Linked DNA regions of Homo sapiens: all the other regions are linked to region 2. Evidence: promoter capture Hi-C in 16 types of primary human blood cells and fetal thymus (Javierre and others, 2016). All regions are on one chromosome and are shown on one strand. The core of a region is centred on a gene start or on the middle of the fragment in contact, and the rest is flanking DNA. Distances in the headings are between cores, read along the strand shown.

Evidence for each region. Contacts are between HindIII fragments. The CHiCAGO score rates a contact against its expected background, and 5 or more counts as called.
Region 1: the fragment with the promoter of CNOT1 here is called in contact with the fragment with the promoter of SPMIP8 in region 2 in 1 of 17 cell types (fetal thymus); the score reaches 6.3 in fetal thymus.
Region 3: a contact is called between the fragment with the promoter of CIAPIN1 here and the fragment with the promoter of SPMIP8 in region 2, in 10 of 17 cell types (neutrophils, total B cells, M1 macrophages and 7 more). The highest score is 13.6, in neutrophils.
Region 4: the fragment with the promoter of GOT2 here is called in contact with the fragment with the promoter of SPMIP8 in region 2 in 4 of 17 cell types (total B cells, activated CD4 T cells, fetal thymus and 1 more); the score reaches 10.1 in total B cells.
Region 5: a contact is called between the fragment with the promoter of ARL2BP here and the fragment with the promoter of SPMIP8 in region 2, in 6 of 17 cell types (M0 macrophages, total B cells, monocytes and 3 more). The highest score is 9.1, in M0 macrophages.

The regions. Positions count from the first base shown.
Region 1 is chr16:58,627,147-58,632,276 of GRCh38, forward strand. It overlaps CNOT1 (CCR4-NOT transcription complex subunit 1), which reads right to left and starts at 2,680. Exons shown (of 49, transcript NM_016284.5): 1 at 2,582-2,680. RefSeq lists enhancers at 1,757-2,433, 2,434-3,109, 2,558-2,767, 3,058-3,547. The HindIII fragment of the contact is 12,291 bases long and covers 1,678-5,130 here.
Region 2 is chr16:57,973,627-57,978,279 of GRCh38, forward strand. It overlaps SPMIP8 (sperm microtubule inner protein 8), which reads left to right and starts at 2,918. Exons shown (of 8, transcript NM_199456.3): 1 at 2,918-3,008; 2 at 4,189-4,413. The coding sequence starts at 4,191. The HindIII fragment of the contact is 9,202 bases long and covers 623-4,653 here.
Region 3 is chr16:57,445,670-57,451,010 of GRCh38, forward strand. CIAPIN1 (cytokine induced apoptosis inhibitor 1) reads right to left here and starts at 1,716. Exons shown (of 9, transcript NM_020313.4): 1 at 1,673-1,716. COQ9 (coenzyme Q9) reads left to right here and starts at 1,810. Exons shown (of 9, transcript NM_020312.4): 1 at 1,810-1,909. The coding sequence starts at 1,837. RefSeq lists an enhancer at 1,628-1,922. The HindIII fragment of the contact is 5,604 bases long and covers 1-4,011 here.
Region 4 is chr16:58,732,997-58,737,882 of GRCh38, forward strand. It overlaps GOT2 (glutamic-oxaloacetic transaminase 2), which reads right to left and starts at 1,320. Exons shown (of 10, transcript NM_002080.4): 1 at 1,144-1,320. The coding sequence starts at 1,232. RefSeq lists silencers at 645-734, 835-924 and enhancers at 1,047-1,665, 1,365-1,444. The HindIII fragment of the contact is 10,522 bases long and covers 1-4,886 here.
Region 5 is chr16:57,242,235-57,247,418 of GRCh38, forward strand. ARL2BP (ARF like GTPase 2 binding protein) reads left to right here and starts at 3,025. Exons shown (of 6, transcript NM_012106.4): 1 at 3,025-3,171; 2 at 3,846-3,907. The coding sequence starts at 3,134. It overlaps LOC124903697 (a long non-coding RNA gene), which reads right to left. Exons shown (of 2, transcript XR_007065082.1): 2 at 3,581-5,184. RefSeq lists silencers at 2,744-3,123, 3,214-3,423. The HindIII fragment of the contact is 5,456 bases long and covers 1-3,910 here.

The sequences.
Region 1 (5,130 bases), core at 1,430-3,929, 650 kb after region 2:
GTCTGTAATCCCAGCACTTTGGGAGGGTGAGGCGGGTGGATCATGAAGTTAAGAGTTCGAGACCATCCTGGCCAACATGGTGAAACCCTGTCTCTATTAAAATACAAAAATTAGCTGGGTGTGGTGGCGGGCACCTGTAGTCCCAGCTACTCGAGGGGCTGAGGCAGAATTGCTTGAACCCTGGAGGCAAAGGTTGCAGTGAACCGAGATTGTGTGCTGCTGCACTCCAGCCTGGTGACAGAGCGAGACTCCATCTCAAAAAAAAAAAAAAAAAAAAAGTTTCTCATAACCAGATCAGAATCTATCCTAAAACATACTCAGAAAAAGTAACATGCAAGGTAATTTGAAATCAGACTTTAAAGCATGTTTTGAAAAGATGGCAAGCATTTCCATTTGTTTTCATAGCTTTTTTTAATGACTTGACTCCAAATAAGAAGGATGTCTTATTATTTAGCTTGACAACATCTATGTTAAAGAGACTAGGATCTAAACCCCGAAGAGAAATTCAGAAACTAGAAAAAAAGAAAATGAACCCGGGGTGTTAAGCTGGGAACCAAAAAGAGCACATTTCAATTCTTTTCCACCGTAATGCCACAAAACCGTACCTTAAAACTTCTAAGATTACAATCTTAGGTAAGAAAAGGAAATATTTTCAGTTACAAATAGACATGTCTTTGCGCCTTCATTCTAGACTTTTTTTTGAGACGGAGTCTCCCCGTCCCCCAGGCTGGAGTGCAGTAGCTCTATCTCGGCTCACTGCAACCTCCGCCTCCCGGGTTCAAGCAATTCTCCTGCCTCAGCCTCCCAAGTAGCTGGGATTACAGGCACCTGCCACCACGCCCGGCTAATTTTTGTATTTTTAGTAGAGACGCGGTTGTGACATGTTGGCCAGGCTGGTCTCGAACTCCTGACCTCTGGTGATTCACCTACCTTGGCCTCCCTAAGTGCTGGGATTACAGGCGTGAGCCACCGCGCCCAGTCGATTCTAGACTTGTTTCCACTAAGACTTGGGGAACCCACACTTGTTGAAAAGGAACTAACTCTCCAAACTAGTTTTATCAACATGCTATCATTTCAGTCAAAGCACAGCTAGCCACCTAAAACCATGTATCATCAATGCATATTCTCCTTAGACAAGGTAACAATTTGCAGTATCCTAAAACATAATTATTTAAACTGTTACCACATGTCTTCTTAATAGCTAAAATACTCTGCTGCCAATCTTTAAAAGGGTAGGAATACCAACCGGGACCACAGATCACTTAAGTATTAAACCCAAGTACCTATAGAAAAAAATTGTTCTTAATCTGTTTGACCTTCCTCCTAATATTTTACTTGCCTTCCCTCATTTTTTTAATCCATGTATTCCCTATTCCTATCAAAGGGGCTGTCATAAGGAAAACGTTCGGCATTGTTTCAAACAGTATAATTATATTCACTCAATCACTGACTTAAAAAAAAAAAAAAACCCAAGTAGTCACAGGCTATCGAATTGTAGAGAAATCGGCAGGGTAGGTTAAGCATTGTTACTCAGTTTTCAGGAAGAAAACAGACTTTATTAGAGTCCTAAGAAATGTGACATTTGATTAACTTCATGGGAAAAGTTTGTCATAAAGTTTATTTTAAATACAACATTTTCAAACGCACAGATGTCAAGCATTCTTTTTTAATCTACAAAGCTTACTCCTCGGGGAGTTAGTATCTGTGAGCCCTCTTGGGTGAATTCTGCAAAGGAGGTGGTACTGAAAAAGTATTATTTGTGTTTGGCCTTAAGTACCTCTACAAGACCTGCCGTGGATCTTATCAGCCTTGAGGCCTACAAGTGCTCAGCTCACTAGCGGGACACTTGTCCTGGGTGAGCAGGACCGCCACTACTGCAGACACCGGACCGAGTAGGTGGGGGCCAACTTCAAAGAAAGTGTGAGCGCCCAGGCGCGCGAGTGGAACAAAACCTGTAGCAAGTAATAAGGAAGTGCTTGCTCCCGCCCGCCCTTCCCATCCGGGGACACCCGAAACCTGGGGGGCTTTGACAACGTGCTGGGGGCGTAAGACGGGGAGAGTGGCAGCTCCGAGTACACGGAGAAGAACTGGAAACATGCAAAAACTCCAAACACGGTCCCCCCCGCCAGAAGCCCTAGGCCTCGGAAGCCGATGCCCACTGCAACCATCAGGGAGCAGAGACAGAAACAGTAGTTAAGGAGGTCGTGGAGGTCTCAGAGGGGTGCAACCCGCGCGAAGCCAGGCCCAGCGACACGAACTGCCGCCGCTGCCGCCCCCTGAGCCTCCAGGCCCGGGACAGAGACCACCATGGGTCTCACCCCGCGCTCTACCCTCCGCTTCCTGGAGCCTTCTCGCTGGCCTCTCATCTTCAGAGCGCGAAGCCTCCGAGAGCCGTGTGGAGAAGAGTCCGCCCTCTCCCGCCTCGTCCCACTTCCCCGTCCCGGCTGCCTCTCACTCCCTAGAGCTCCGGGAAACGCTTCCAGTGGCCCCAGGTCCACCCCTGTTCCTCCTCCCACCGGCTCTCGCGTTCCCAAGCTGACACCGCCACCCTACCCTAGCCCCTGACGCCAACCCGCCTCACCTCAGGCGGCTCCGGCAGCGCTGGACACAGGAAACTCCTGGGTCCCCGACTCCGGCTCTCCTCGACCCCCTCTTCGGTTAACTCCGCTTGTTTCTCTACAAAATGGCGCCGGAGGTCGCGCGCTCACGTCGCGGCCTTTCCCCTCCCCGTTCCCATTTCATCATTCGCTGCCCGCCCGAGGAGGGATGGCCCCAGAGCCAGCCAATGGCCGCGCCCCGCCTGTGGCTTCTACCCAATCACCGACAGGTGCCCGCGGATTTAAACCAATCACACTCTATCACTTGCAGAAGTCGAGGAAGAAATCAGGCTCCTGCTAGCAACTACCAATCCGGCCTCCTACTTCGCGGACTTTGGCCAATTGCCGCTCACCAGGCCCAGGGGACCGGAGTCAGAGCCCTCGCGCCTGCGCTCGAGGCGAGGGCCAATAGGGAGAGGCTGATAACTTCGATTTGGGGCTTCACGTACTTCCCACCTGCCCTGGAGGGCTGCGACCAGTGGGGCTTGGCATTGCCTTTGAGGAACAATAAATTATGGAAGGGGCCCATAACTCCTCGCCACCCTGCGCGGGAACTACTTTGAATTACAGTGAAACAGCTTTCCTCCACTTTCCTTCCTCTTTCGAAATGTCACGGTCCAGTAGACTTCGGGGATTCCCAACCGAAACAATCCCCTCCCCTAGTGTCCCTTTGGCGGGGAACGCCAGCCAGAAAGCAAGCCAGGTTGTGACTAGAGTTGGGGCGCTTTGCATCCTGGGATGTGTAGTCGCGCTCCTCTACCCCGTTCCCATCGCAGAAGTAATGCGTCTTCGTTCGTCGCTGCGCCCTAGAAGGAGCAGTGCATGCTGGGGGTTGTAGTCACCCAGGTGGCCACCTTGTCCTCGCTTGCTTCGCTTTGGTCAAGGGAACTTTCTGTTTTAGTTCTGTCTATTGAAGAAGGGACACCTTCCAGAGACGCCTTCCAGAGACGTAGGAGACGCAAGTTCTCTTCCTGGCTTAAGTCCTAGAAGCCGTCTAAGAAAGGATACCCATGTCCTTTGCTCTCAAGAGAAAAAGCATAGAAACATATTTTGCTATGGTTTGTTTGTTAACTATGATAGTTGGTAAGATTTTATACTCACCTGTACCCAAAAGAGAAAGGATTGGGAAGGAAGTGTTGACTGGTTAGCTCTATTACCTTTTGAAATTAAGGCCGGGCGCGGTGGCTCACGCTTGTAATACCAGCTCTTTGGGAGGCTGAGGCGGGTGGATCACGACGTCAGGTGATCGAGACCATCCTGGCTAACACGGTGAAACCCCATCTCTACTAAGATACAAAAAATTAGCCGGGCGTGGTGGCGCACACCTGTAATCCCAGCTACTTAGGAGGCTGAGGCAGGAGAATCGCTTGAACCCGGGAGGCGTGGGTTGCAGTGAGCAGAGATCGCGCCACTGCACTCCAGCCTGAGCGACAGAGCAAAACTCTGTCTCAAAAAAAAAAAAAAAAAAAAAAAGGCAGGGCGCTGCGGATCACGCCTGCAATCCCAGCACTTTGGGAGGCCGAGGCGGGCGGATCACGAGGTCAGGAGATGGAGACCATTCCGGCTAACACGGTGAAACCCCGTCTCTACTAAAAATACAGAAAAATTAACCGGGCGTAGTGGCGGGCGCCTGTAGTCCCAGCTACTCGGGAGGCTGAGGCAGGAGAATGGCGTGAACCCGGGAGGCAGAGGTCGCAGTGAGCCGAGATCGCGCCGCTTGACTCCAGCCTGGGCGACTGAGCGAGACTCCGTCTCCAAAAAAAAAAAAGAAAAGAAAAAGAAATTCAAACCTATCCCTGTGCTCACCCCTGTCCTCAGACTAGGCTCAGTAGGTGGTCTTCTGGCCATCTCTCTCATATTACCTCTCGTGCCCAAAAAAATACTTAAAAAAAATTATGGTAAGAAACACATGAAATTTACCATCTTAATCATTTTTAAGTGTAGAATACAGTAGTGTTAACTATATGCATATTGTTGTACAACAGATCTCTAGAACTTTTTCATCTTGCAAAACTGAAACTACATCTGTTGTTTAACACCTTCCATTTCCCCCTCCCCCTAGTCCCTGACAATCACTATTCTTCTTTATGTTCCTGAGTTTGATTACTTTAGATACCTCATATAAGTGGAATCATGCAGTATTTGTCTTTTTGTGACTGGCCTAGTTAACTGAGCATATGTCCTAAAAACACATCTTTTTTTTTTTTTTTTTTTTTTTTTTTTTTTTTTTTTTTGAGACGGAGTTTTGCTCTTGTTGCCCAGGCTGGAGTGCAATGGTGCAATCTCAGCTCACTGCAACCTCCGGCCTCCCCAGTTCAAGCAAGACTCCTGCCTCAGCCTCCCAGGTACCTGAGATTGCAGGCACGTGCCACCACACCCAGCTAATTTTTGTATTTTTAGTAGACACAGGGTTTCACCATGTTGGTCAGGCTGGTATTGAACTCCTGACCTCAGGTAATCCACCCGCCTCAGCCTCCCAAAGTGCTGGGATTACAGGCATGAGCCACCAAGCCCAGCCTAAAAATACTTTTCG
Region 2 (4,653 bases), core at 1,668-4,167:
GGAGCTGCCAGGGATGGGGATGGAGAAGCAGAAGCATGGGGTGAGGTGAAAGCCAAGAGTAGTGGCTGTGTTGGGGTGAGGGAATGATCCAAGGGGCCACTGTCTGAGCTGAGACTTGAAATGCGTCCTGAGATTGGGCAACTTAGAGGCAGTTGGAGCCCCTGCAGAGTGGGAAGGAGGGAAAATTAGATGAGCCTGAGGGAACAGTAGTGGGCTCTAGGGTGGGGAAAATGAGCAAAACACAGCCACACACAGTGGCTAAAGTTTGGATGAAACTCATGTGCATATATATGGAGAGAAAGAAGCCAGATTCAAAAGAAGACCCCAGTGATCCATGCATACAAAATTCCCAAAAGGCAAAATTAGTCTGTCCTGTCTATGGCTACAAACACAAGTACATTTGCCACCTCTAGTTTTCTATAAAGCCTAGAGTTGTTAAATAAAGTTTTCCATAGTTGCCCATAAATAAAAGCACAGGTTGTACTACAAGATGGGAGAGTGGTTCCTTCTTGCTGGGTTGGGGGTTGTAATTGGGAAGGTGTATGTGGAAGCTTCTAGGGACTGGCAGGGCCAATGTCTTGCTTTCTTTTACTAACTTGGCTGGCATCTATTTTTCAAAACAAGCTTATGGGAATATATATGCCATAAAATTCACCCATGGTAAGTATACAACTCAATGACTTTTATATTACTTATTATTTATTTATTTATTTAAGACAGGGTGTCACTCTATCACCCAGGCTGGAGTGCAGTGGCGTGATCATAGCTCACCGCAGCCTCGACCTTCTGAGCTGAAGTGATTATCCCACCTCAGCCTCCCAAGTAGCTGTGACCACAGGCACATGCCACCATGCCCATTTAATTTTCATATTTTTTGTAGAGACAGGGTTTCGCCATGTTTCCCAGGCTGGTCTCGAACTCCCGGGCTCAAGCAATCCACCCACTCGGGGTTCCCAAAGGGCTGGAATTACAGGCGTGAGCCACCGCCCCGGCCTAACTCATGATTTTTAACACATTGACTGAACTGTGCAACTCTTGCCACATCTGGTTTTAGAACATTCCCGTTGCCCCAGTAAGACCCCTCACACCAGATGATAACCACTCTTCATTCGTACACCCCAGTCCCAGGCAACCACACATCTGCTTTCTGCGTCTATAGATTTGTCTTTCCTGGACATTTTATATAAATGGGTCATACAATATGTGAGTTTTCACATCTGGCTTCTTTGATGTAGCGTAATGTTTTATGAGGTTCATCCACCTCGTAGCTTGTATCAGAACTTCATTTCTTTTCATTGCCCAAGAGTATTGCATGGTATAGACGCACCACAGTTTATCCACTCATCAGTGGACACAGGTTGTTTCCACTTTTTGGCGATACATCATGTTGCTATGAACATTTGTGTGCAAGTCTTTGTGAAGATATATACTTTTTTTTTTTTGAGACGAAGTCTTGCTCTTGCCGCCCAGACTGGAGTGCGATGCTGCGATCTCGGCTCACTGCAACCTCCGCCTCCCAGGTTCAAGCGATTCTCCTGCCTCAGCGTCCTGAGTAGCTGGGATTACAGGCTTGCACCACCACGCCCAGCTAATTTTTGTGTTTTCAGTAGAGACAGGTTTTCACCATGTTGGCCAGGCTGGTCTCAAACTCCCAACCTCAAGTGATCTGCTCACCTCAGCCTCCCAAAGTGCTGGGATTACAGGTGTGAGCCATCGTGCCTCACAATATACTTTCATTTCTCTTGGGAAGCCTCCTGGGGTAGAATCTTCCAGATGACCCAATCATATGGTACATTTCTGTTTCATTTTTTAAGAAACTGATAAACTGTTTTAAAAGTAGTACTCCATGTCTTGACCAGGGTGGGTGGTAGTTATACGGGGTCTCATTTTGTAAATTATTAGTTACATTAGATATTTATTCACTTTCTGTATTTCTTCTATTTTATAACTTTAAAAGAGTCAAGAAATAAATTGGGGGTGGGGTGGTGAGTGGAGTCAACTCTGGGAAGGTTTTTTGTAAGGGGTAGCAGTTAGGAATGCTGTTCTGGAAGCTGTATGGAGCACTGGAGGAGGAGCAACTGGGGAAACAAATCCTACAAGAATTTCACAGGAGGGGCTCCAAGACCCATCAGGTTCAGCCCCTGGGCAGGTATATGCAAAAGCACATGCCAATATATGCAAATAAGTTAGGATCTCCTGGGGTTTCCTCACCTTGGGGGTCTGTCTCTAATGGTTGTGACCAGGATGGTGGGCAGGCCCCAGGGCTTTGGGGTGCTGGCCTTGGGCACTCACAGCCTGGCTTTTCTGGGAGCCTGCAGTCCTGCAGGGGCTGAGGGTGGAGTATCATCTGCTAATCCCTGGCCTGCTGAGTCCACCACTCTCCCTGATCCCCTCACGCTTACCCTGGATACTGGCCACAGCTAATCTCCACTCCTGGAGACTCAAGGGCTGGCAGACAGTGCAGTGCCCTCTTCCCTGAGGGTTCCAGGGAGGGGAGATCCCTCTCAGCATCCAGATCCTCCTAACGGCAGATCCTAGAGTCCTTGCCTAACACAGAGGAGAGCCTTGAGTCCCAGAGAGAGGCGGTAATTAGCCCAGGATTACACAGCCTGCAGTGGGCTCAGTAGCCATTTCTGGCCTGCCTTGGCCTGACTACCTCCAGGGAACCCCAGCTCCCCATCTGACATTTCCCAAGATGCCTGGCCTGTGCTAAGGCCTGGGAGACCACAGCCTTCAGGAAGGCTGGAAGGGAGTGGCCAGAGCACAGGAATTCTGGCACAGGCTCTTGTTAGAGCCTGTAGTTGCCAGGGTTGCTAAGGAGTGGGTGCCTCAGAATCAGGCTGCAATGGGCATTGTCTGTGCACAATGTTCCTTTATTCTGCTGCTGTCCATAATAAGGGCTCGTCCACCTCCCTTCCTCTTCTGCCCATTGAGCAGTCAAAGAACTGAAAGTCCTTATAAGCCTGTGCACCTGGGCCTGGGCCCTACAGATAAGGTAGCTGCTATTGGTGAGTCAGAAGCAGGGAGCCCTTGCTCTCTTCCCCATATCCGTGATCCCCCTCCCTGTCCCTCCCCAGGCAGTCACATCCCCTAAGGCAGCTTCCCCATGCCTTGTCACCATGCCCCCTCCCTGCTCCTCCATGATCTAAGGTCCTCTCTCCTCCTGCCACCCTAGCTTCCACCTCCACCTCTCACCTCTAACTCAGGGTCAGGAAGAAAGCAAGCTGTCTCAACAAATTCTCACTAAAGTGTAAATGACTGAAAGGCTCCTGGGACTATCTGCTTTTTAAAGGGAGGCACTGGGTATCCAGTAATGCTTTTCTAGTTTAAATATATCATGTTGCTCCCCTTCCTGAAAATCTTTCTGAGTCAATCTGTAGAATTTTGGGTAAATAGCTAGGGCAAGTCCATAATTATTCACCCAGAGGTATACGGCATACTAAGCTACATTCTGAACCCGCTTGCTGCTGCACTTTCCTGCTTATTATTTAAGAATAGACTCGCCAGGCAAGGTGGCTCACACCTGTAATCCCAGCACTTTGAGAGGCTGAGGCGGGTGGATCACTTGAGGTCAGGAGTTCGAGACCAGCCTGGCCAACACAGTGAAACCCCGTCTCTACTAAAAATACAAAAACTAGTCACATGTGGTGGTGGATGCCTATAATCCCAGTTCCTCAGGAGGCTGAGGCAGGAGAATCACTTGAACCCAGGAGACAGAGGTTGCATTGAGCCAAGATGGCGCCACTGTACTTCAGTCTGAGCAGAAGAGTGAGACTGTCTCAAAAAAAAAAAAAAAAAGAAAAGAAAGAAAGAAAAAAAAACGAATAGACTCAAATACCACCTCTTTTAGACCATTCCTTGAATGTCCTAACCCCAGCCTCCCCAGAAACACACACTCTGTACTGACCTCCCTCACAGCCATGGCACAATGTGAGTGTGTGTGTGTGTGTGTGTGTGTGTATGTGTGTGTTGGAAGGGGAGTGGGAGGGTTGTCTCTGTTATCTTCTGTTATCTGAATGTTCCTGCCACCTCATGCTGAGCTCCAGAAAAATGGCCTGGCACACAGTAGGTGCTAAATAAATGTTTGGCAAGTAGACATCGGCACTGGCCAAGGTTGTTTTCATGCAGAGAAGGGTGTCTGGCCAGCATGAGCCCAGGGTGAGCCCCTTAGAACCCTCTGCCCCCCAGCTATGGCCCGCATCATTGACCTGGTGCCCTGGGACGATGGCTCCACACATGTGTATGCCTCCCCGGCCATCCTGCTTCCCATGGAGCGGCAGCGCAACCAGCTGGCGGGCGTGAAGCAGCAGCTCTACCACCCAGCCCTGCCCACCCTGCGCCACATGGACAGGGACACCGTCAAGGCCTGCCTTCCTGATGAGCACTGCCAGTCCACCACCTACTGCCGCAAAGGTTAGGACACCAGTGTAGGATCCCCTTTGGGGAAGGGGCAGATGGTTTCAGGAAAGAGGGAGACAGATGCAAGGATGAAAGAGGCCAGTCCCAGCTCTGCTGCTCCCTGCCCAGGACACTTTGGCCAGGTCTGAGCCTCTGTTTACTGCTCAGTACAATGAGGATAATTGACAAGGCCTACCTCAAAGTGTTGTTGTGGGGTTAGAAGGAGATAAGGCACAAAAAACACTTAGAGGCTGG
Region 3 (5,341 bases), core at 466-2,965, 530 kb before region 2:
CTGCCAGCTTTAGCAGAATGGTAGGAAGGCACAATTACAACCTGCAAATGAGACCTAAGAAACCTACTATGTGCCTGTCCCTACACGGGAGACAGACAAGAAGACACTTGTTCCCTGCCCTCAAGAGAACGCTCTGTCTAGACACTTAGACTAAGACCTTAGAGGTTTTTTTTTTTTTTTTTTTTTTTTTTTTTTTGGCAGAGTCTTGCTCTGTTGCCCAGGCTGGAGTGCAATGGCACAATCTTGGCTCACTGCAACCTCCGACTCCGGGGTTCAAGCGATTCTCCCGCCTCAGCCTCCCAAATAGCTGGGATTACAGGCACCCACCACCACACCCAGCTAATTTTTGTATTCTTTGTAGAGATGCGGTTTCGCCATGTTGCCCAGGCTGGTCTCGAACTCCTGAGCTCAAGTGATCCACACGCCGCAGCCTCCCAAAGTGCTGGGATTACAGGCATGAGCCTGGCCCAGAATTTTTTTTAAAAAGTGAGAATCAACAATGAAACAGGAACGTCTCCAGGCATTTGGCGTGTGTCAGGAATTAGGGTTTCAGAAAGGATACCCAAATGTTAGTTTCCACAGGAAAGGCTCATTCAAAGATGGATGGATAGAACTCAGAAACAAATCCTTATGGAGAGGAGTGTTTTACCTAAAACCAGAAATATGGATCTAAAATTTTAACCTTTGGGGTAAGTTTTGGCTTAGGAGGTCTTCCCCGCACCCGTGCAGGGGGGAGCCGGATATTCTGAAAAGACTAGATTTGACAAGGGGTGTGCAAAGCACAACTTTAACAGACACAATGATGGGGTCTGACTGCAAACACAAAATCGACAGAATCACATGCTCTTGTCGTCAGTTACTCTTAGCCCAAAAACCGTTTACTTCTTCCTACTAAGCCTTCTCTGATGACACCCCCGTGAAGTGCTCTGTTAGTGGCTAGACCGTGACCTCCTTGAGCCATCCAGAGCTTGGCACTCAGTAATGTCAGAATGAAGGGCACCAGCCTTTCCCGAACTTGCAGATCCTACAAATCACCCGAGGGAGTGGTTAAAATGAGATTCCTGGACCACACCCAGACCCACTCAATCAATCCTTCTGGACAAAGGCCTAGCTGTCTGTTCTAGTAACAAGCATCCTTCCGATCTGGATACTTAATTATATCAACTCAACACGCTGGGGGTTCGGACAAGTTGCAGGTTCGAAATTACAATCGTGAGCTCAGGTACCCCCCGACTCCAAGGCTTTCGTGCTTTGCTGCCAGGAACCCCCAGGGACCAAAACGTCACGGGGACTGAGGCCCAAGGTCACAACGATTGGCTACTGGTAGGACCGGGTCTCAGAACCAGGTCTCCCCGATCCCAAGCTCGGAGCCGTTTCTCCTCAGCGTGGTGTCCCCGGGGCCTCAGAGTAGGGCCGGCTGCGCAAGGGACGAGGCAGCCGGGGAACGGCAGAAATTCCCAGTCAGGACCCCAGGGAGGTTAGGGCCGGCCCTGGCCCCTCACACCGACTTCTCAGGAATAAACCAGCCGGGGCTTTCAGCGGGGCGGCCGTGGCTGCGTTCCCATCGAGGAACGGGGTGGGAAGAGAAAATGAGAGGATGTGGGAACGAGGGTGGGCCGGGAGGGGACAGTTGAGGGAGCTCTGGCGCTCAGCTGGCCCCCACCACTCTCACCTGCCGCCTGGGCTCGCTCCCGGCTTCTCTCCAGCCGTCGACTCCACGCCTTGCGCCTCTCGCGAGAGGAGGAGGCTCCACGGAGCGACGACTTCCGCCCTCCTTAGGGCCGTGGTCCCGTAGCTACCGGTCGCGTCGCCGTGGGCGACGTGCCCGCTTCCAAAATGGCGGCGGCGGCGGTATCTGGTGCGCTTGGCCGGGCGGGCTGGAGGCTCCTGCAGCTGCGATGCCTGCCCGGTGAGGGGGCTGCCAAGCCGGGGAGAGGCGGGGAGCGCGGAGGGGGCGCGAGGCCGGCTTCAGCTGGGTTCGACGGTGGGGGGAAGAGGCCGTTGGGGCGGCCCACGAGCAAGGTGAGGTGAAGGGCATCGGCGCGGGCTCGGGCGAGCCGCCTGGCTAGCTTCGGCCCTGCTCCGCTGTCTGTGAGGGGCAGATGCAGCGGGGCAGGGCCTGTCACCCCCATTTCATGGAGTTGGCAGAGCCTCAGAGAGGGCTCGGGGTACGAAAGTCACGCAGCCTGAGCCTGTTGGTTACAGAACTGGCAGTCGCAGACCCATTCTCAAGTCCATTGCCAAGTCCACTGGAAGGACAGGTGGACACGGCCACAGAGAGCCTAGTCCATTGTTTCCCGAAAGCCAGCCGTTTCCTCACCACTTCACGAATTCTGTGATACTCTCTTACCACCTTTGCCACTATGTACTCAGTATTTTTATTTTTAAATAGGAGTTCTTAAAGAGGAAACTTTATATCATTGTCATAAATGGAAAACTAATATCGCCTTCCTTAATTAGAACGTATGCATTAACACTTTAGCATACATACATAACTGATGAAACGTTCACCTGTATTTCACCTAAAATCTTCTCATGACCCTCAGTGGTACTACAGTCATACTTTGCATCTGCTCCTTCCTTTTCAAAGTTTTGCGGATATTTGTGCCGTATCTTTCAGTACATGTATTAAAATATTGATATTTTGGCACATACTATTCTGTTTCTTTTTTTTCTTTTTTTTTTTTTTCTGAGACAGGGTCTGGCTCCTCAGCCTCCCAAGGAGCTGGGACTACAAGTGCGTGCCACCCTACTTGGCTTAATTTTGTTGTTGAGACAGAGTCTCACTCTGTCACCCAGGCTGGAGTGCAGTGGTACAATCTCGGCTCACTGCAGCCTCTACCTCCTGGGTTCAAGTGATTCTCCTGCCTCAGCCTTCCTAGTAGCTGGGGTTGTGCCACCATGCCCAGCTAATTTTTTATTTTTAGTAGACGGGGTTTCACCATGTTGGCCAGGCTAGTCCAAAACTCCTGACCTCAAGTTATCTGCCTGCCTCAGCCTCCCAAAGTGTTGGGATTACAGGTATGAGCCACCGCCTAGCCCCCTTTTGTTGTATTTATACAAAATTCCAAACTAAAGATGTGTAGTAAAAGTAATGTCTATGACCCCGCAAATCCACCAAGAGAAATGAAGGTATGTGTCTACAAAAAAGTTAGTACAAGTATATTCATAGCAATTTTATTCATAGTAGCCAAACACAGAAACAGTCCAGTTGTCTAGCAACAGAATAGTATTTTTTTTATGGAATACTATTCTGCAATAAAAACTAAAAATCAGTCAAAGAGAAAGCTGGACACTAAAGTGATAAGGACCATTTTTAATCAGTAATAACTATTGCAATAGGGAAAAGAGTCTAGCATGAACGGAGCCCAACCTTGAGTTTAGAGCATGCAGAAGTCACTGGGTGTTTCAAAGAAAAAATGAGGGAGGAGGGAGGAAGGCAGGTGGGGACTCAGTAGAGTCAGGATAGTGAATAATTATAAATAAGATTGGTCTGCTAGCTGGCAGTTAACAAAGTTAGGATTCTGTTTTCCCACAGGGAGACAAGCCCTATCCTTCTTAAGTGTTAGCCTGAACAAACAGTAAAATTTTTTTTGACAGCCTTGAGTTTTCTCAGGCAGGCACTTTAAAGGGGGGTAGGGTTATCTTAAGGGATGTGGCCCTGAGTGATGCTTATGTTAGTGTGTGTTCAAGTCTTTATAGGCCAAGGTTGAGGCCTAGATAAGAAGAGGGCTCAGAGGAGCCTGGTTAGAGCCTGATCAAGGAGAGAATCTTTGCCAGATATACTGATAGGCATAAAAATATGGATCAATCTCAAAAATATACTAAGTGGTCCAGGTGTGGTGGCTCACACCTGTAATCCCAGCACTTTGGGAAGCTGAGGTGGGAGGGTTGCTTGAGCCGAGGAGTTCAAGACCATCTTGGGCAACATAGCAAGACTCTGTCTCTATTTAAACTTAAAATAAATAAATATATATATATACACACACATATATAGTCCTAAGTGAAAGAAGCTTTACTGAAACATGTACATATAGATGAAATCTTAGGACAGGCAAAACTAAGACAAGCAAAAACTAACCTAGAGTGAAAAATTCAGAACAGTATGAATGGGGAATGACTGAAAAGGCATAAGGGAACTTTCTGGGGTGACAGTAATGTTCTCTGTTTAGATTGGGTTTAGGTTGTGCAAGTGTATACATTTGTCAAAACTCATAGAATGGTACACTTAAGATTTATGCATTTCATTGTGTGTAAATGGCATCTGAATAACAAAACAGTGAACGTAGAAGTCTTTGATGCTAAAATGTTTAGAGGTGAATAATACTGATATCTGCAACAAATGCACTGAAAATCAAGATGGATGAATGAAGAACATGACAGATGTGTTGAACCTAGTGGCAGATATACAGGTGTTCATTCCATAATTCTTTCAATTTGCGTGTTTGAAAATTTTTATAATAGGCTGGGCATGATGGCTCACGCCTGTAATCCTAGCACTTTGGGAGGCCAAGACGGGCGATCACTTGAGGTCAGGAGTTTGAGACCAGCCTGGCCAACATGGCGAAACTCCGTCTCTACTAAAAATACAAAAGTGAGCCTGAGAGTGGTGGCGGGTGCCTGTGATCCCAGCTACTCGGGAGGCTGAGGCACGAGAATCACTTGAGCCTGGGAGGCAGAGGTTGCAGTGAGCCGAGATAATCTCACTGCACTCCAGCTTGGCCGACAGAGTGAGACTCTGACAAAAAAAAAAAAAAAAAAGAAAATTTTTAGAATAAAAAATGTTGGGAAATAAAAAATACTATGAGTTTATGCTTAGGAAACATACTTCTCATCTTTCTTAAAGTAAATGGAGATGTTGCAGATATTGCAGATGAGAAAGCAGATAGAGATTAGTGACTTGTCCAAAGATACCATATAAACACTGGGGGAGTAGGGCTGAGACATTAAATTACTATTCCAGAGCTCTTGCCATAATATATATAAATCTGTAACATTTGCAAGCCACTTTTACTTTTTGTTTGGGCCACACAGTGCTCTCATTGAGCAAGTAGAGATTATTACTCTAAATTTGCAGATTTAAAAATCTGCACATTGGGGTGAAATTGTTTGCCAGTTACCCAGGTAACAAGTGGTAGAAACAGGTCAAGATGCTAGGTAGATCATTTTTCCTGGCTTACCACTTTTGCTACCACTTCGTGTCCCAAAGTTCCCAGTTTACCCAATATTTTTGTGTGGGACCCAACACTTGGATAAGTGGTTCTACAGGAGTCTCTGGCCTGCTTTTCCTCCTCCTTATCTGTGTTACCACTCTGGGTCTGAAAGGGTCTTCTCTGTTGAA
Region 4 (4,886 bases), core at 70-2,569, 760 kb after region 2:
GGCCTTGGAAAGGACAGATAGTTCTGCTGGCTGAAAGACACAGAGCATACATTCAAACGAAAGGCCAAGCTACGCTTTGCTCCTTGCAGTTAATACCTGCTTGGGGGTGGTTTTAAAACTCAGTTCCTTATTAAGGTAGTGCTTAAGGAGAGTGCTCCAAATCGGCTTCTTGAGTTGAATTAATCTTCTGGCTCCGGTCTCCACTGGGAATGAATTACTAGAGCTCGTTTCAAGCTCTGAAATTTCCCTCCATACTATTATACACGCCACAGTACGAAATTACGTTTGTCATTTTTTGAGCAATGACCATTTGTCATTGTCCTTCCCTCGCCTTGTTCACAGTTGTATCGTTGGCATCTGGTCCAGAGCCTGGCTCTGAGAAACTGCAGTTACGAAATATTTACTGAATGAAAGAGCACAGGGAGATGGAGAGGAAGATTGATAGCCTCCCTGCAACCGGACCTCCTTAGGGGCAATAAGGAAAAAACAAAACAAAACAAAAAAAGAGACACACTACACCTCGACCCTTTCCCAAGCAAAGGCCAAACGGGCCCCGGGGTCACAGGGACCTCGGGGGGTCGCAAGGTCAGGAGAATGCCGCACGCCAAGGTCGCAGGTGCGGGAAGGAAAGCGAGGCCCGAATGCCGGCGCCCCGGAAACCTTCCTCTCGCGCTCTTCCCGCCCAGGGCACACACGCGGCAGCCAGCCGCCGCCGGCCCACCGACTCGGGCGGGCCGGGGGCCAGGACAGGTGCGCCCGCCGCCCCCAGGGCACCCTATCAAGGGCACGGTCGTTACCCGGCGCCGCTGCCCCAGTACTATCCGCACCCCTCCCACTGAATGGGAGTCCGGCAACCGCCGAGGGCCACACTTCCTTTCCCTAGGGATTGCGTTGCACGCCTTCCTGCAGGGCCCAGTGCGGGGACCAGAGGGATGTGGGATCCTGAGGATCACTGTGGGGCACGGACGCTCAATCCTCAGTCCCCAGTAAGGGAAAGCCGAGGGGGTGGCAGAAAAGTGTGTGTGTGTGCGTGTGAGTGACAGTGTGTATTTGGGGGCCGGGAGGGGTGAATGTCCTGGGGTGCTCGCAGCTCGGCGGGGCAGGGCCATCGCCCTGGCTCCATCTCCGTTTCCCTTGGCTTACCTGGCTCTGGCAGAGGCCGCGGCGGCGAGGCCCGGGTGGAAGGCGGCGGCGATCCCGGGGAGGACGCGGCCGGAGTGCAGCAGGGCCATGGTGGACCGTAGGAGGGCAGTGGGCAGCCGCAGGACGGAGCAGAGGGCGAGCGGACACACACACAGGGAACCGGCTCCTGCTGAAGGTAAGGACAGGGACTTCCCTGGGCCAGAGCGGCCGCGTGCTGGGCCCGAGCCACGTCACAGCGATCCCTGGCGGCCGGCGGGCGGAGCGGCGTGGGCTCAGCGGAGGTCGTGGAAGAGGATGACTGCACAGTTTACCTACGCCCAGCCCTTGCTGCGCTTCATTCATTTAATCCAGCTGGGCCAGGCCTGGCCGGCCGAAGAGGTGGCTGCTGTTATGGCAGTTTGAAAGATGAGAAAATGTAGGCTGACATAGTTGACGTATTTTGTCTGATGCCTTACAGCCATTAGGACCCAAGGTGGCCTTACTTTCAACCCTAATAGTTTCCCTAAGCACAAGTCATGTCACGTCGTTCCTGAATGTTTCCTTATCCCCCACCCTTTTTTTTTTTTTTTTTTTTTTGAGATGGAGTTTCACTCTGTCACCCAGGCTGGAGTGCAGTGGCGTGATTTCGGCTCACTACAACCTCTGCCTCCCAGGTTCAAGCGATTCTCCTGCCTCAGCTCCCCGAGTAGCTGGGTTACAGGTGCCACCACCACGCCCGGCTAATTTTTGTATTTTTAGTAGAGACGGGGGTTTCACCATGTTGACCAGTCTGGTCTCAAACTCCTGATCTCAAGTGATCTGCCCGTCTCAGTCTCCCAAGACTGCTAGGATTACAGGCATGAGCCACCGCACCTGGCTTCCTTATCCCTTTTATGGAGAGGGTCGCATGTGTATTTTGTGGGGCAGTTGTGAGGATTAATAAGATTAGCAGATTATGTCTAAAACAGGGCCTGATTTAGTAAGCACAAAATAACCCATGGTCATTAATGACAAACTCGTGTATGTCAAATCCTGATAACTGTTTGTGGAAGGAAATGAATCGGTTTTGAAGGAAATGAATCGGTTTTAAAGGAAAAAGCAAATGAATTTCAGACACATCCACAAGTCAAACGAGTCTTTCTCATGTGTAGTCTATTTCTCTGATACTCGTCTCTTAAACCAAGGTAGGGGCCCGGTGTGTTGGCTTATGCCTGTAAACCCAACACTTTGGTAGACTGAGGCAGGAGGATAGCATGAAAACAAGAGTCTGAGACCAGCCTGGGTAACAAGATGAAACCCCCATCTCTTAAAAAAATAAAAAAAAATTAGCAGGATGTGGTGTTGCGTGCCTGTTCCAGCTACTCAGAAGGCTGAGGAGGGAGGATTGCTTGAGCCCATTAATTCAAGAGTGCAGGCCGGGCGCGGTGGCTCACGCCTGTAATCCCAGCACTTTGGGAGGCCGAGGCAGGCGGATCACGAGGTCAGGAGATCGAGTCCATCCTGGCTAACCCTCTCTCTACTAAAAAAATACAAAAAAAAAGTAGCCGGGCATAGTGGCGGGCGCCTGTAGTCCCAGCTACTCGGGAGGCTGAGGCAGGAGAATGGCATGAACCCGGGAGGCGGAGCTTGCAGTGAGCCAAGATCGCGCCACTGCACTCCAGCCTGGGCAACAGAGCCAGACTCCGACTCAAAAAAAAAAAAAAAAAAAGAGTGCAGTGAGCCAGGATTGCGCTACTGCACTCCAGCCTGGGTAACAGAGTGAGACGCTGGCTCTAAATAAATAAATAAATACATACATAAATAAAATAAAACCGAGATAGAACTGTGTACCTTGGCAATTTAATATCTCCTCTGTGGCTCCACGTTGCCTGAATGGTAAAGTCTAAACCCCTACTTAGGGCCACATTCTAGGTCCTTCCGGCCCAGCTCCAATTTACTGTCTCAGACCCTTATGCTCTCATATGACCTTGACCTATGCGCCTATAGGCCATGACTTGGGATTCTACCTGTGAAAAGTAAAGTAGAGATTCTTCTTTAAAGACTTTCCTCCCTGTCTAATTAGAAATAAATAGTAACTTCTCTTAAAAACAAAATGTATTCAAAGACCTGTACTAACAGTCTTAAATATCTGCTAGCCATAATAAAGAAATCAATGTACTTTATGTTCCTAGCTGCCACCATTTAGCCTAAATATTTGCCCTGGCATGCTTATACTGGTCCAAGCAAGCATTAGGTCATAGCCTGTTCCTCTTCCTTATTTGAAGGTGTTTTTACCTTTCTCAGCATTCCACAAGTTACTTCCTCCTTCCTTTGCTCTCCTCTGCCTTTGCCTCTTTTAAAAAGTTCTAAGTTGCTAGCCAATCAGAACAAATACAAAATGTGAGGACCTGTTCCAGCCAATGAAAACCGGACACAGCAGCAAGGTGGATGTATCAGGTTATAAGTGACCTTGTCTCCTTTGTTTGGTGTACTCTCATGGCAAAACTGCTGTCGAGTGTACCCTTTCTGCCGAAAGTATAAAGATGGCCTTGCTGAGGAAATTAAATTTATGTTCAAGTGCTATTTCTTTACAGCACCAAGAAACAAGAATTTCAAACATACCAGTACATCAGTTTGCTCAGACTGCTGTAACAAATCCCCATGAATTGGGTGGTTTAAAACAACAGAAATTTATTCACTCACAATTCTGGAGGCCCAAAATCAAAAATCAAGGTATTGGCAGGGTTTGTGCCTTATGGGGTCTCAGAGACTCTGTTCCATGCTTCTCCTAGCTTCTGGCAATTGTCTGCACTCCTGGGCATTCGTATGCTGTTAGAGGCATCACTAATCTCTGCCTCTGGTGTCACACAGTGTTCTCTCCCTGTCTGTCTCTTCTCTTCTTTTAAGGACACCAATCATATTGGGGTAGGGTGCATCTTAATTGCCTCATCTTCGCCTGATTACATCTGTAAAGACCCTATTTTCAAATAGATCACATTAATGGGTTCCCCAGGTTAGAACTTAAACGTATCTTTTTTGGGGGCACATTTCAACACATAACAACTACTATTCCCAAAACAATTACATGTCCAGGTATAAACCCTAGAGATCTTCTCACACATTTTTAAGGCTGTCAGTAAAGCATTGTTTATAAAAGCAAAACAGGGAACAACCTAGTCGCCCATCGATGGAGGAAGAGATGGATGTTCTGCTACAGTCTCATGATGGAGCATTACAGAACTACTAACGTGAATGAACTCAATAGATGTCACCATGGATAGACCTCAAAAACATAAACATGCTATAGAATTATACATATAATATGGTGCCACTTAGACAATATTTTTAAAATACACAAAACCATAACATACATTTATTCATAAATGTATGTAAAAGTTTGAAAAAATATGCCAAGGATATGGTTCAATACAGGATTAGGAGGGCATGAGCGTATTTGCCCTTGTGGAGGGAAGGAGACAACTTTGTCATATTAGCTTCATAAAAATTATAGATAAGAGGCAGGCACGGTGGCTCGCGCCTGTAATCCCAGCACTTTGGAGGCCAAAGCGGGCGGATCACCTGAGGTCAAGAATTAGAGACCAGCCTGGCCAACATGGTGAAACCCCGTCTCTACTAAAAATACAAAAATTAGCCAGATGTGGTGGCGCGTGCCTATAGTCCCAGCTACCCAGGAGGCTGAGGTAGGAGAATCGCTTAAACCTGGGAGGCAGAGGTTGCAGTGAGCCTAGATTGTGCCACTGCACTCCAGCCTGGGCACAGAGCAA
Region 5 (5,184 bases), core at 1,775-4,274, 730 kb before region 2:
AGTTTTGCTACAAGTGGAAAAAGGCCATTCTGTATTCAGGAGAAAACGTTCTGATTTCCAAGAATATGGTTTAACAACCCAGGGATTAGGGGCTATATAGCATGATGGTTGAAATAGGCCCTTTGGAGTGGGACTGGACCCAGGTCCCACTAATGCTTGGTTTCCCAGTCTGTAAAATGGAGATACTACCCACCTCATACCGGTTTTTTGTTTTTGTAAGGTCTCAAATATTTCAAAAGGAGACAATGTATTTATAAATGTTTAGCACACTATCTGATACATCCTTGAGTGGGTACTTTTTATCTTTATCCCCATTTGTTCCTAGAGTCAGTAAGGTTGGTGAAATGGATTAAAAGATGGCCACAAATTATTTGACATCCCTCCCGTCAAGAAATGAGGTTTATGTCTACTTTCCTTAAATTTGGGTGGCTCTGGGTCTGCTTGATCAGTGGAACACAGTGGAAGGGCTATTGTGCCAGTTTCCAGTACCAGGTCTTTAAGTGACTGCCAGCTTACATTTCAGTGTCTTGAAACACTTGCTCTTGGACCCAGCACCATGGTGTGAGAAAACCCAAGAATCCCCTGAATCCTATAGATGGAGAGGAACTGAAACCCCCCAAACCCCGGCCCCAGTTCTCTGGCCAATGTCCACAACTGAGAGCCAAGAGCCAACACTAATTTGCCAGCCATGTGAGTAAACTCCTTGGAGGAAGCTCCTCTAGTCCATTCCAGCTGCCCCCAGCCGACACCAACTGGAATAGAGACTAGCTGGCCCTGCCCAAATTACAGATTAGTGAGCAAAATGGTGGTTTTAAGCCACTAAATTTTCAGGTGGTTTGTAACAGCAATAGATAACCAGAACAGATTAAATCAAGGTGTGTTCCTCCTCCACTCCATCAATGACTTAGGAAGGGTAGGCAAATTCATTTTGTCCAGAAATGTGTGGTATATAGAGAAAGTAGGTCATGAAGAAACTCTCTGAGTTTGCTGTAAGCTGTGTGACCAGGGCTTGACTAAACAACTCAGTCCAGTAATTCAGCAAATCTTTTTAAATGCCTATCTTCCACTTGGTGCTAAACAGAGTAACTCATAATTGATGTCACCTGACCGGGTGCGGTGGCTCACGCCTGTAATCCCAACACTTTGGGAGGCCGAGGCGGGCAGACCACCAGAGGTCAGGAGTTCGAGACCACGCTGGCCAACATGGTGAAGCCCTGTCTCTACTAAAAATACAAAAATTAGCCGGGTGTGGTGGCACGCGCCTGTAATCCCAGCTACTTAGGAGGCTGAGGCAGGAGAATCCCTTAAACCCGGGAGGCAGAGATTGCAGTGAGCCGAGATTGCGCCACTGCACTCCAGCCTGGGCAACAGAGCAAGACTCCCTCTCAAAAAATAAATAGGCCGAGCGCAGTGGCTCACGCCTGTAATCCCAGCACTTTGGGAGGCCAAGGCGGGCGGATCACCTGAGGTCGGGAGTTCAAGACCAGCCTGACCAACATAGAGAAACCCCATCTCTACTAAAAACACAAAAAAATTAGGCATGGTGGCGCATGACTGTAATCCTAGCTACGCGGGAGGCTGAGGCAGGAGAATCGCTTGAAACCGGTAGGCGGAGGTTGTGTTGAGCCGAGATTGCACCATTGCACTCTAGCCCGGGCAGTAAGAGCGAAACTCCATCTCAATAAATAAATAAATTAGTAATAATTTATGTCACCTTGGTCACAGCTGTCACACCCGACTGTGTCTTTGTAACCATCTTTGTTTCAGATCCCACGGATATCTATTTTAAGTCCATTCAAAGATGTCTGCTAGGCCGGTTGTGGTGGCTCACACCTGTAATCCTAGCCCTTTTGGAGGCCAAGGTAGGTGGATCATCTGAGGTCAGGAGTTCGAGACCAGCCTGGCCAACATGGTGAAACCCTGTCTCTACTAAAAATTCAAAAATAGCCGGGCATAGTGGCACGTACTTGTAATCCTAGCTACTCGGGAGGCTGAGGCACGAGAATCGCTTGAACCTGGGAGGCGGAAGTTGTAGCCAGCCGAGATCGTGCCACTGCCCTCCAGCCTGGGCGACAGAGCAAGACTCCGTCTCAAAAAAATAAAAAATGTCTGCTAACCCATTCTGACTGGCCACCTGACCCTCAGTTCATACCTTAAACCCCTCTAGTTCCTCTAGTCATATACCACACTTTGGCCATAAGGTATCATGCAACTAAAGAGACACAATGCTTAGTTGTCCAATCAAGAGAAATCAGCTCAAACGAATCCTTTTTCAAAGTTTGGCAGTTTTGAAGAGGCCTTTTCCTGAAAGGTATCTGATTCCTGATTGCGTGGCTCAAAATAGTTCTTCAATTCTCATCTTGTATAATTAGTCAAGAAACCAATTACTGCCGAGTAATCTTTATGATGCGAAGATTATAACGTAAATTACAGGACATCGACTTCTTGCGATGGGGCTTTCCTTCCACGAGGGGTAGGAACTGTCTTGAAATCAGACGTCAGCATCACCTGGTTCAAGGGATAAGGGACTGGCTCTCCAGCGACTTGGCAACTTACAAGCGCTCTTTAAACACGCCTTAAACTACTTATTTAATCCTCCACACTCAGGGAGGCGCAATTTATTCTCGAGTTGCGAGTGAGGAAATTCTGGCTCGTGGCTTCGATTCCTTCATCCGTACAATGGGGGCGACTTGAGACGGAGTTCCCACACAACGGGTGCTCGCCGAAGCGCCGCATCCCTCCGCACTCCCTTCCGGGACTTCCTCTCCCTGTCTTGCCCCGCCCCGGCATCGGTAACGCTCGCCTGTGATTGGATGCCGGCCGGCCGTGAGGCGGTGGAAGGGGTTGCGGTGGCCATGGTGACAGGAGGCGGGGCGCCGCGCCCCTCCGGCAGTCACCGAGGCCCGGACCTGCGGCGTCGGCGGCGCGCGCAGAGGGCCAGGCGGGCGTAGAGGCCGGACCGACGCGTGGCGGCAGAGGGTATCCAAGGCCGGACCTGGCGCGCAGGCGCTGACCCGACCTGGCAGTGAGCTGGCCGCGGCCTTGGCTGAGAGGCCTTAACCCCGCCGGGCGGCCGCGCCCTGCATGCGAGTTGGGCCGCGGGCGGGGTTGGAGCCTACTCGGGGCGACTGCGATGGACGCCTTAGAAGGAGAGAGCTTTGCGCTGTCTTTGTGAGTAGCTCCTCCAGGGCGCAGGCGACTTGGGGCCGGAGGCAGCGGGCGTTCGCCCCGGGGCCTGACCCTATAAAACAGGTGTCCTTAGGGGCCGGGCCGGGCCGGGCCGGGCAGGGTGGGGGCCGCCAAGGCGCCGTCCCAGCTCCAGGCCTTCCTTTTGTAGAGTACTAAGGCTGCAGGTTTCAGGCCCCGCAGGACAGGAGTGCGAGGCGGGTGTCACCGTTGATCAGCGCCTCCATCACAATCCCCAGCCGCCAACCCTCAGCTGTCAGCAAAGCCTGGAGGGGTTGAGCGCCCGAGGCCCCTCCACCCCTCCCTGGCCCCCGCCTCCCGGACTCCTGACCAAATGACCCCCCCCGGCAGGTGTTTCGCCCGTGCCGGGTTCATGCTCACAAGCAGACAGGTATGGGGTGATAGCTAAGAGCCTGGAGAACAAGTTTTTATTAAAGTGGAGTCATGACATTGAACGTTCATGTCACAAACGTGCCGAGTGTGTTTTCTTCTGTTTGGACTTACTAGATCAGTCAGTCATTCTTAATCGTTGAAGATGGGTGATGGGAAGTTCGTTTTGCTACTCTTTTTTCTCTTGTGCATGTTTGAAAACGTCCATACTAAAAACATTTTTTTAATGCATTATTTGAAATAGCACCTAATCCAGGCATGTTTTTCAGCTCCTCCGCCTCTGATGCAGAATTTGATGCTGTGGTTGGATATTTAGAGGACATTATCATGGGTAAGCTTTTAAGATACTGTTTTTAAGGACTTGCTTGTTTCTTTAAGGACATTGAAATCAATTTGGAGAGTTAATTTTAAAAAGAGAAAACATCAAGCTGCCTGCAATTTTTAATGTAGCACAATGTAATACTTAAGTAAAGGCTTACTGCAGTTTGTCTTAGAAACAAACAGCCCAGTACTCCTGAAAACATCTAATAAGCATAGATTCAGAGGCTGGAAGGGACTGACTCAGGCTAATAGGGCACCAGCAGTGTGGCGTTCTTCGCAAAACTATAGGAAATAATGATCTACTCTATTTCTTATGTAGGGTAAGAGCAATTTCAATTTTAGATAGTTTTGAGTTTTAACATTTTCATGCCATAAAACACATAAAACCAGGCCAGGTGCGGTGGCTAACGCCTGTAATCCCAGCACTTTGGGAGGCCGAGGTGGGCGGATCACGAGGTCAGGAGATCAAGACCATCCTGGCTAACACGGTGAAACCCTGTCTCTACTAAAAATACAAAAAAAATTAGCCGGGCGTGGTAGCGGGCGCCTGTAGTCCCAGCTACTCAGGAGGCTGAGGCAGGAAAATGGCGTGAACCTGGGAGGTGGAGCTTGCAGTGATCCGAGATCGTGCCACTTCACTCCAGCCTGGGCGACAGAGCGAGACTCCGTCTGGAAAAAATAAAAATGAAAATAAACACATAAAACCATAACCATAAGCACACATGGCCATAAAGAAAACAAGGTATTAAGCTTCAGCTGGTTCTGTATTTTCCTAGGTTTTGAGTTCCTACTTGTGGATGTATTTGGGCATCCATGAAACCTGCTAAGTAACAGAGAAGCAGTAACAGTCCCCAGAGGTTTAAGACAAGTATGTAGGAGGGGAAAACTTACATTTGAGAAAATTCTGTTGACTTTAAGTTTTATGAGAATTGAGAAAAGAACACTGTTATTTGGTGTTATTGGCTGTATGGCTTAATCCATTTAGAATGAAAATTACTGACCAAGTTTTTATACCTTCAGGTATAAAGGTTCATGCCCTTAACTCCTGAATATAGATGTTTCATCATTAAGCTCGTTTCCCATGTGGACTTGGGGATTTCTGGGGAATACTGAAGAATCCATTCAGTTCTCTTGCCTATTATACCCTATATGCTATGGGAAAATGAGCCTTCTGTGAGCCTACGGTATTTATCCCAAAGTCTGGGTCCTTTCTGAAACTTTCCTTTTATTTTTAGAAATAATCTATTCAGTTGTTAAAATTCCTTATTCCGGGATGGGTACGGTGGC